Linked DNA regions of Homo sapiens: all the other regions are linked to region 1. The links are contacts of gene promoters, found by promoter capture Hi-C in human tissues and cell types (Jung and others, 2019). All regions are on one chromosome and are shown on one strand. Each heading gives the region's core, a stretch centred on a gene start or on the middle of the fragment in contact. The rest is flanking DNA. Distances are from core to core; before and after follow the strand shown. Region 1 holds the start of KRTAP5-5 (keratin associated protein 5-5). Region 2 has its middle 19 kb from the start of SYT8. Region 3 has its middle 7.4 kb from the start of MOB2.

The links. The method cuts DNA at HindIII sites, captures the fragments that hold promoters and counts their contacts. A contact is called where the count stands out against the background at its distance.
Region 2: a contact is called between a fragment that was not itself captured here and the fragment with the promoter of KRTAP5-5 in region 1, in 3 of the 25 tissues and cell types used here (IMR-90 fibroblasts, aorta and dorsolateral prefrontal cortex).
Region 3: a contact is called between a fragment that was not itself captured here and the fragment with the promoter of KRTAP5-5 in region 1, in 2 of the 25 tissues and cell types used here (lymphoblastoid cells and mesendoderm cells).

The regions. Positions count from the first base shown.
Region 1 is chr11:1,628,459-1,631,073 of GRCh38, reverse strand. KRTAP5-5 (keratin associated protein 5-5) reads right to left here and starts at 1,299. Exons shown (of 1, transcript NM_001001480.3): 1 at 144-1,299. The coding sequence starts at 1,233. The coding sequence ends at 520. The HindIII fragment of the contact is 7,029 bases long and covers 1-2,615 here.
Region 2 is chr11:1,815,056-1,817,670 of GRCh38, reverse strand. No RefSeq gene overlaps it. Among named protein-coding and RNA genes, the nearest start is that of SYT8, 19 kb to the left of the region's middle. The HindIII fragment of the contact is 5,465 bases long and covers 1-2,615 here.
Region 3 is chr11:1,492,863-1,495,477 of GRCh38, reverse strand. No RefSeq gene overlaps it. Among named protein-coding and RNA genes, the nearest start is that of MOB2, 7.4 kb to the right of the region's middle. The HindIII fragment of the contact is 6,425 bases long and covers 1-2,615 here.

The sequences.
Region 1 (2,615 bases), core at 50-2,549:
AGTTCTGTGCATGAAGACATGGACCATGACATGAAAGATGCTGAGGGGAGAGAAATGGGAACAGGCCCAGGGGTGGAGGCAAGAAGATGGTGCTTCTGGGAATGAGAGAGAGGTGGGAAGGAGAGAACCACAAGACAGTGAGCTTTGTGCTTAGAGACTTTGTTTATTTAGAGGGTCAGGATTCAGTCTTGATATACAGACAGCCAGAGAGATTGAGGGTCGATCACACTCCTGAAAGAAGGAGCAGCTGTCAGGGTCTAAGGGGTCTGATCTGCCTCTGGGGCCTCAGTGGGCCGCTTTGGATCTTAAATGAGTGAGGAGCAGGGAGAGGAAGTTCAGGAGAAGTAGTAGGCAATGAGCCAGAAGGGGTCCTCAGTCAGTTTCGGGAGCACTGGTGTGGAGTGGATGAAGCCAGTGAGGACACAGTGGAGACAGTGGAGCACCAGAGAACCCAGGGCAAGGAAGCTGGGCAGCCGGGCCCTTCACCAGTCAGGCCACCTGCAGTCTGCAGTCAGAGCCTCAGATCTTACACTGGCAGCACACGGGGACACAGCAGCTGGACTGGCAGCAGCAGGGCTTGTAGCAGCTGGATTGGCAGCAGGATGATCCACAGCCTGAGAAGCAGCTACAGGGCTTACAGCAGCTGGACTGGCAGCAGTAGGGCTTACAGCAGCTGGACTGGCAGCAGTAAGGCTTACAGCAGCTGGACTGGCAGCAGGATGACCCACAGCCTGAGGAGCAGCAGCAGGGCTTGCAGCAGCTGGACTGGGAGCAGCCATAAGAACCACAGCCCCCCTTGGACCCCCCACAGGAGCCACAGCCCCCCTTGGACCCCCCACAGGAGCCACAGCCCCCCTTGGACCCCCCACAGGAGCCACAGCCCCCCTTGGACCCCCCACAGGAGCCACAGGCCCCCTTGGACACCCCACAGGAGACACAGCCTCTCTTGGAGCCCCCGCAAGAGCCACAGCCCCCTTTGCCACAGCTGGAGCAGGAACAAGCTGGCACACAGCAGCACATGGGCTTGCAGCAGCAGACAGGCACACAGCAGCCGGAGCCACATCCCCCACAGCCCGCACAGCCGGAGCCACAGCCCCCACAGCCTCCACAGCCGGAGCCACAGCCCCCACAGCCAGAGCCACAGCCTCCACAGCCGGAGCCACAGCCCCCACAGCCGGAGCCACGGCCTCCACAGCCGGAGCCACAGCCTCCGGAGCAGCCACAGCAGCCCATGGTTCTGGTGGATTGAGGGTGGAGCAGGTAGAGGAGCAGGTGAGAGGGAGGTGCAGGTGTGGAGCCCCCTGAGCCCGGGCTCTTTATATCCCTGTCCAGGGTCAGGTGAGAGGCTGGGCACACTGTCACTTCCTGGTTCCTGCTTGTGCCACTGGTCCCAGTATTCTCTTCTGCTTTACATTTTTATAAATAACTCCTGTTTTCCTCGCACTTTTCTCGAATGTGCTGTCAGGTCTGTGATGGAAGCGGCCCCTCAGTAAACACTGGCCCCGCGGTGAGTTTCCCTTTCCATGTGACAAGAAGGAAGCGATGGGCAGGCAGTGGCTCGCTCAGAGGCCTTGGTCTTGCCGAGGGTGATTTTGAGCCCAGGACTCCTGGCTTGCTCCCGGGAAGATTCCTCTGCGGGAGCATCGTGTCTTGCTTGGGACGTGCCTAGGCCCTACACCTTCACGGTCCACAGCAGCTCCTGGCCCGCGGGCTGTTTCCAAGGGTCCCAGGACCTGGGGCTTCAGCCCTCAGCTCAGCAGGGTCGTTTTCGGTGTAAGACTTTGTTGGAAGGTTTGCAGTGTTGACTGAGACGGGGATTTTAAGCGCTTATTCTGGAGCTTGCTGCGTGCTCCCCATGGAAAGTGTTCTCCTGTGATAACCGCGGTCTCTTCCAGGGCTTTCAGACCACTCGGGTGGCAGGGCTGACAGATACAGTACAGGATGCCTGCTGGAACTTGAATTTCAGATCATCGAAGGCTGCCTTTTGAGGAAGGAAATCCAAGCATTGCAAGGGGCAGACACTGCCTCTGCGCTGGGTCAGGACCCAGATCGCATTGTCTCCTGCAGCGGTTCCTCCTGCCGCCGCACGGTGTCGCTGTGAAGCGGGTTCCCCCACTGCGTGGCCGGCCCAGGGGCTCCCGGACAGCGGCACAGGCTGATGGCAGAGGCCCTTTCAGGGCCAGTGAGCGGAAGAGGATGCCCTGTCTGGGTGCCCGCCTGCTCCGGGTCCCGGGCTCAGCCTGGGAAGCAGCAACTACATTCGGGTGCAGGCCCACTGGATGCTAAAGAAAGCCGGTGGAGAGCAGGGAACCGGATGGCCATTTGCCCCCGTGACCACAATACCTGTGAGTGCCCCGAGCCCAGTCAACAGGCCTCAGGCCACGGTGTAAACACCAGCTGGCACTCGGTGACTCTTGCCGTGTATGCTGGAGCCCCACTCTGTTCTGGGGCAGGGGACTGTATCTCAGGGAGGAACAGAAAACCCATTAGGAGAGAGCCGCCTTGTGTTGGCTGTCCCCACCAGAGGCGGCATCCTCCAGCTCTGGAACAGAGGCAACAGATACATTTGCTTCCTGATACATTCGCATCCAGCGCCTGATACATTCGCATCCAGC
Region 2 (2,615 bases), core at 85-2,584, 190 kb before region 1:
CTTTACTGGTGACCATGTGGTCCCACATTTGGTCAATGGGGATACATTTAAGTTGACTGGTATGTCATCTTGAAATGACCTCAGTAGTCTTTGATTGTTTCTTAGCTTTCTGATGCAATGAGAAGTTCCAGGTTTATCTTATGTCATGGCTATGTCATGGCTCAGCCCAGAACCAGTCATTTCTCCAAGGGTTCACGGTTCTTTTTGAAGGGAGTTTGGTGGGTATTTAGAGGTCCCACTTTGGGTGCCAGGGTGCTCATTGCTACTAGTCTATTTTCATTGTTTCTAAGCTTTTACTGTGGACAGAATTAGGCAAGACCTATTTTTCCAGTTTTTGTATGGTGGTAAAATATGTGTAACAAAATTTACCATCTTCTAAGTGCACAGTTCCGTGGCATTCAGTACATTCGCGCTGCTGTCATCCCACTATCCAGCTCCAGAATGCCTTTTGTCTCGAAAAGCAGCAGCTCTGCTCCCATTAAATCCAACTCCCCCTCCACCTCCCCCAGCCCCTGGCACTCGCCATCCTACTTTCTGTCACTATAAATTTGACTACTCTAGGGACCTCATACAAATAGAATCATACAGTATTTGTCTTTTCTTTTTTCTTTTTTTGACTGGCTTAGGAAATAACTTTTTTTTGTTTTGTTTTTTTAAGATAAAGTCTTGCTCTGTCACCCAGGCTGGAGTGCAGTGGCATGATCCCAGCTCACTACAACCTCCACCTCCTGGGTTCAAGCAATTCTCCTGCCTCAGCCTCCTGAGTAGCTGGGATTACAGGCATGCACCACCATGCCCAACTAATGTTTGTATTTTTAGTAGAGACAGAGTTTCACCATGTTGGCCAGGCTAGTCTTGAACCCCTGACCTCAAGTGATCCACCCGCCTAGGCGTCTCAAAGTGCTGGGATTACAGGAGTGAGCCACTGTGGCCCAGCTGGAAATATATATTTTTAAAGGTAAATATATCATGGAATCATACTGATATTTCTAATTTACCTACAGGATTTTAAGTTTCTTTCTTGACTTCTTGGAGTGCATACGTTTATCTGAACCGTTTTATGACTGTGAACTGTTTTATGTGAACTGTTTTATGACTGAAAAAACTACAGGGCACAGGCAGGTTGCTCAGCATCCTGGTTGCTGTCTCTTTCAGGTGCCCCTTGCCCCTTTTTGCAAGCTTTATTTTTATTTTTTTGAGACAGAGTCTTGCTGTATTGCCCAGGCTGGAGTGCAGTGGTGTGATCTCGGCTCACTGCAACCTCCGCCTCCTGGGTTCAAGTCGTTCTCCTGCCTCAGCCTCCTGAGTAGGTGGGGCTGCAGGCGCCCACCACCTCACCTGGCTAATTTTTGTATTTTTAGTAGAGACGGGATTTCGCCATGTTGCCCAGGCTGGTCTCAAACTCCTAGCCTCATGTGATCTGCCCGCCTCATCCTCCCGAAGTGCTGGGATTACAGGCATGAGCCATGGCGCCCGGTCTCTTTTTGCAAGCTTTGATTGACAGTTCCATCTTTTAAAAGATATTTATTCACACCCCAAAACCTTTCTTAGTAAACGACAGTGTGTTAATCCCCATCTGGTCTGCCCCATGTTGAGTGCCCCAGACACGGGTCTGGGAGACCAGCCACAGCTTTGCCCAGAGCCTCTCACCCACTGTCAGCCACAGAGGCTCCCCAGCGTGGACACCCCTTGGTTTGTCCAACCAGACCCACTCCAACAGGTGGGTCACCTGCGCCATTTGCTCTTACATGGGGTGCCCCATGCATGGCCAACACAGCCACCGTTTGTAGGTTTTGAGGCAGTTTGGGTGGCCCCAGCTGACATCAAGTGGTCCTGGATGACACCTGTGTTCTTAGCCAGCCTAGAGCTCCTGCCTCAGCTGCCTTCATCCCGGGAATGCGTGGCAAGGCAGCTCTGTGGGCTGCTGTCTTCTGGTGCATTCTCCCTGAGTTTATCCAGAAGTTAGTCCCATTCCTGGGCCCACTACAATGTGGGTTAAGCCCTCATGACTCTGAGATCTCCTCATTCCCGAGGAACATGCTAGCACTTCTTGCAGCTCCACATCTCCCCACCTTGTCATCCTGGAGTATTCTCAGAAAGGCCAGAAGTTGTCACCCCTTCTAGGGGACTCACACGTGAGCCCAGCCCCTGTCCGTTTATGGAAGGAGACACCCCTGCTCCCATGGGGCCCTTCTCCTGGGGAAGGGAGGGAAAGAGCTTGGTGTTTGGGCCTGTATCTGGCCTTTCTCCCGGGAAGGCCCTGGACGTGATGCCCAGAGCGCCCAGCCACCCAGCAGGCTCCTGGCCGCCCATGCCCCAGGCCCAGCCTCCTAGGGCCGTAGCCTCCCCAGGGCCTCAGTGCCCCACCACCACCGGGAAATTCCAGTGGAATCATCACAGAGCCCTGGGGATGGTTAAGGCTCTCTGGTTGCAATAACACAAACTGAAGCTGGCGAACTTAAGCCAGGAAGAAAAGAGGGCATTTATTGGAAGGAGGGGCAGCCGTCAGACCAGAAGAAAGAACCAAAGAGCCCATTCAGGCTTCCTGGTCCGGGAGCCCATGAGCAGTCCCTGGAATGACACGGTCTTCCTTCTCGGGGAGCATGGCCACAGCC
Region 3 (2,615 bases), core at 79-2,578, 140 kb after region 1:
GCTGGGTATGGTGGCGGGTGCCTGTAATCCCAGCTACTGAGGAGGCTGAGACAGGAGAATCACTTGAACCCGGGAGGCAGAGGTTGCAGTGAGCTGAGATTGTGCCATTGCACTCTAGCCTGGGTAAGAAGAGTGAAACTCCGTCTCAAAACAAACAAACAAAAAACAAACAAAAAACCAAGAATCTTCTTGTTAATTTCTTTTAAAAATAAGAAATTATCCCGGGATTTTGATAGGATTGTATTTAATTAAGAAAATTGACATCTTAACAATATTGAGTCTTCTAATCCATGGCCATGGCAAATTTTTTTATGTGTTTAGGTCTTTAATTTTTCTCAGCATTGTTTTGTGCTTTTCAGTGAGAGGCTTTGTACATTTGTGTTAAGATTATTCCTAAATTTAAAAATTATATTGTAAATAGCAGTTTTATAATTGTATTTTCCATTTATTTGTTGCTATTATATAGGAATAAAATTAATTTTCTTTACTGACCTTGTGCCCTGTGATGCCACTAAATTTACTTATTAGTTCTAGCAGACTTGCCCCAGTTTCCTTAGACTTTTCTGTTTACATAACCATGTTACCTGCCAAACAAGACGACCTTTTCCTTTCCAGTATTTATGCCTTGTATACCTTTGTCTTGCCTCATTACAGTGGCCTCATTGTGCCGCTGGTATAAGAGTGACACCGAATAAGAGTGGTGAGAGTGAGAAGTGCTCAGAGCCCCTTCCTTGTTTCTGATTTTAGGGGGAAAATCTTTACTCCATCAGCAGCATTTGATGTTAGCTTCAGATTTTTTATAGGTGTCCTTTCTCAGCTGAGGATGGTCCCTTCTGTTCCTGGTTTGCTGAGAGTTTGCATACACGTTTTGCCATGTGCTGTGTCTGCATCTAATTGAGATGGCCATATTTTTTTCTCCTTTCATTAATGTGGTGAATGACATTGATTTTCAGGTGTTAGCTAAGCTTACATTACTGGGTGAATCTCTCTTGGCTATGCTGTATTATCCTTTCAATACGTTGTTGAATTAGTTTGTTACTATTTTATTACAGAGTTTTGCATCCACATTCATGAAGGATATTGGGCTGTAATTTCCCTTTTCTAGGAATGCTGTTGTCTCACTTTGGCAGCAGCATTATGCTGGTCCTCCTCCTCTGTTTTCTGAAAGAGTATGTGTATGGTTTGTATTATTTCTTACTTATATCGTGTGTAGAGTTCATCCGTAAGCCACCTGCACCCACCATTTCCTTGTAGAAAGATTTTTAATTATAAATTCAGATTTTCTACTTCTTTGTATGTCAGTTTTGGTAGCTTGTGTTTGTGAAAAATTTGTCTGTTTCATCTACATTTTCTCTTGGCATTCAGTTCCTTATAGTGCTTTGTTACCCGCTTAATATCTGTAGGATCTGTAGGAATGTCCCTTTCATTTCTGATATCGGTAATTTATGCCCTCTTCCTCTCTTGGCTCTCTGTCTCTTTTCTGCTTAGTCTGCTTGGGAAATTGATCTTTTTTTTTTTTTAAGTTTTCCAGGCTAACTTTGTGTTTAATTCTTCATTATTTGTCTATTTTTCATTTCATAGATTTCTGTTATTTCCTTCCACTTTGCATTTAATATGCACTTCCTTTTTCTGGCTTCTGAAGGTGGATGTATGAATCACTCATTTTAAGCCTTCTCTCCTAATATGAACATTTATAAATTTCTTCCTCAGCTGAGCTTTAGCTGCATTCTACACATTTTTATAAGTGATGTTTTTATTGTAATCTTCTCTTTAGCACTGTTTAATCTGATGTTCATTTCATCTCAAAAATTTCATTTTCGATGTATTCTTCAGTTCCAGGAATTTTTGTTTATTATTTTGTGGAGTTTCCGATTTTTTCAGAGCCCTAATTGCTTTGTTGATTATGTCCAACCTTTCCTCTAAATCTTTGGATATATTGGCCGGGCACAATGTCTCATGCCAGTAATCCCAGCACTTTTGGGAGGCCAAGGCGGACAGATTACTTTAGGTGAGGAGTTTGAGACCAGCGTAGCCAACATGGTGAAACCTCATCTCTACAAAAATACAAAAATTAGCTGTGCTTGGTGGCGTTCGCCTGTAATCCCAGCTGCTCTGGAGGCTGAGGCAGGAGAATCACTTGGGAGACAGAGGTTGCAGTGAGCCGAGATTGTGCCACTGCACTCCAGCCCGGGCAATAGAGGACACTGTCTAAATAAATAAATAAATCGTTGAATATATTTATTTCATTCTTTTAAAGTCTTTGTTTGTTACTTTCATTATCTTTGTTATCTCTAGGCCTGTTTCTGTTGACTTATTTTTCCTGGTTATGAGTTACATTTTTCTGCTTCACCTGTCTAGTAATTTTTTTGTACACTAGGTATTGTGGTAGCAATGTTGTTGAAAGTCTCAGTTCTGTTTTCCTCCCTTAAAGAGTAGTGTGGTTTGTTCTGGAAGGCAGTTAATTTGCTCTTGGTTAGCTAGGATCCGTTTGAGGCTTGTTTTTAAGCTTTATTATGCCAGGTCCAGAGAACCCCCTCACTCTGGGCTATTGTAGCCCAGTCCCCATGGCACAGCCATTGTGGAATCTCTGTTAAATCTATTCGCCCAAGGTGTCT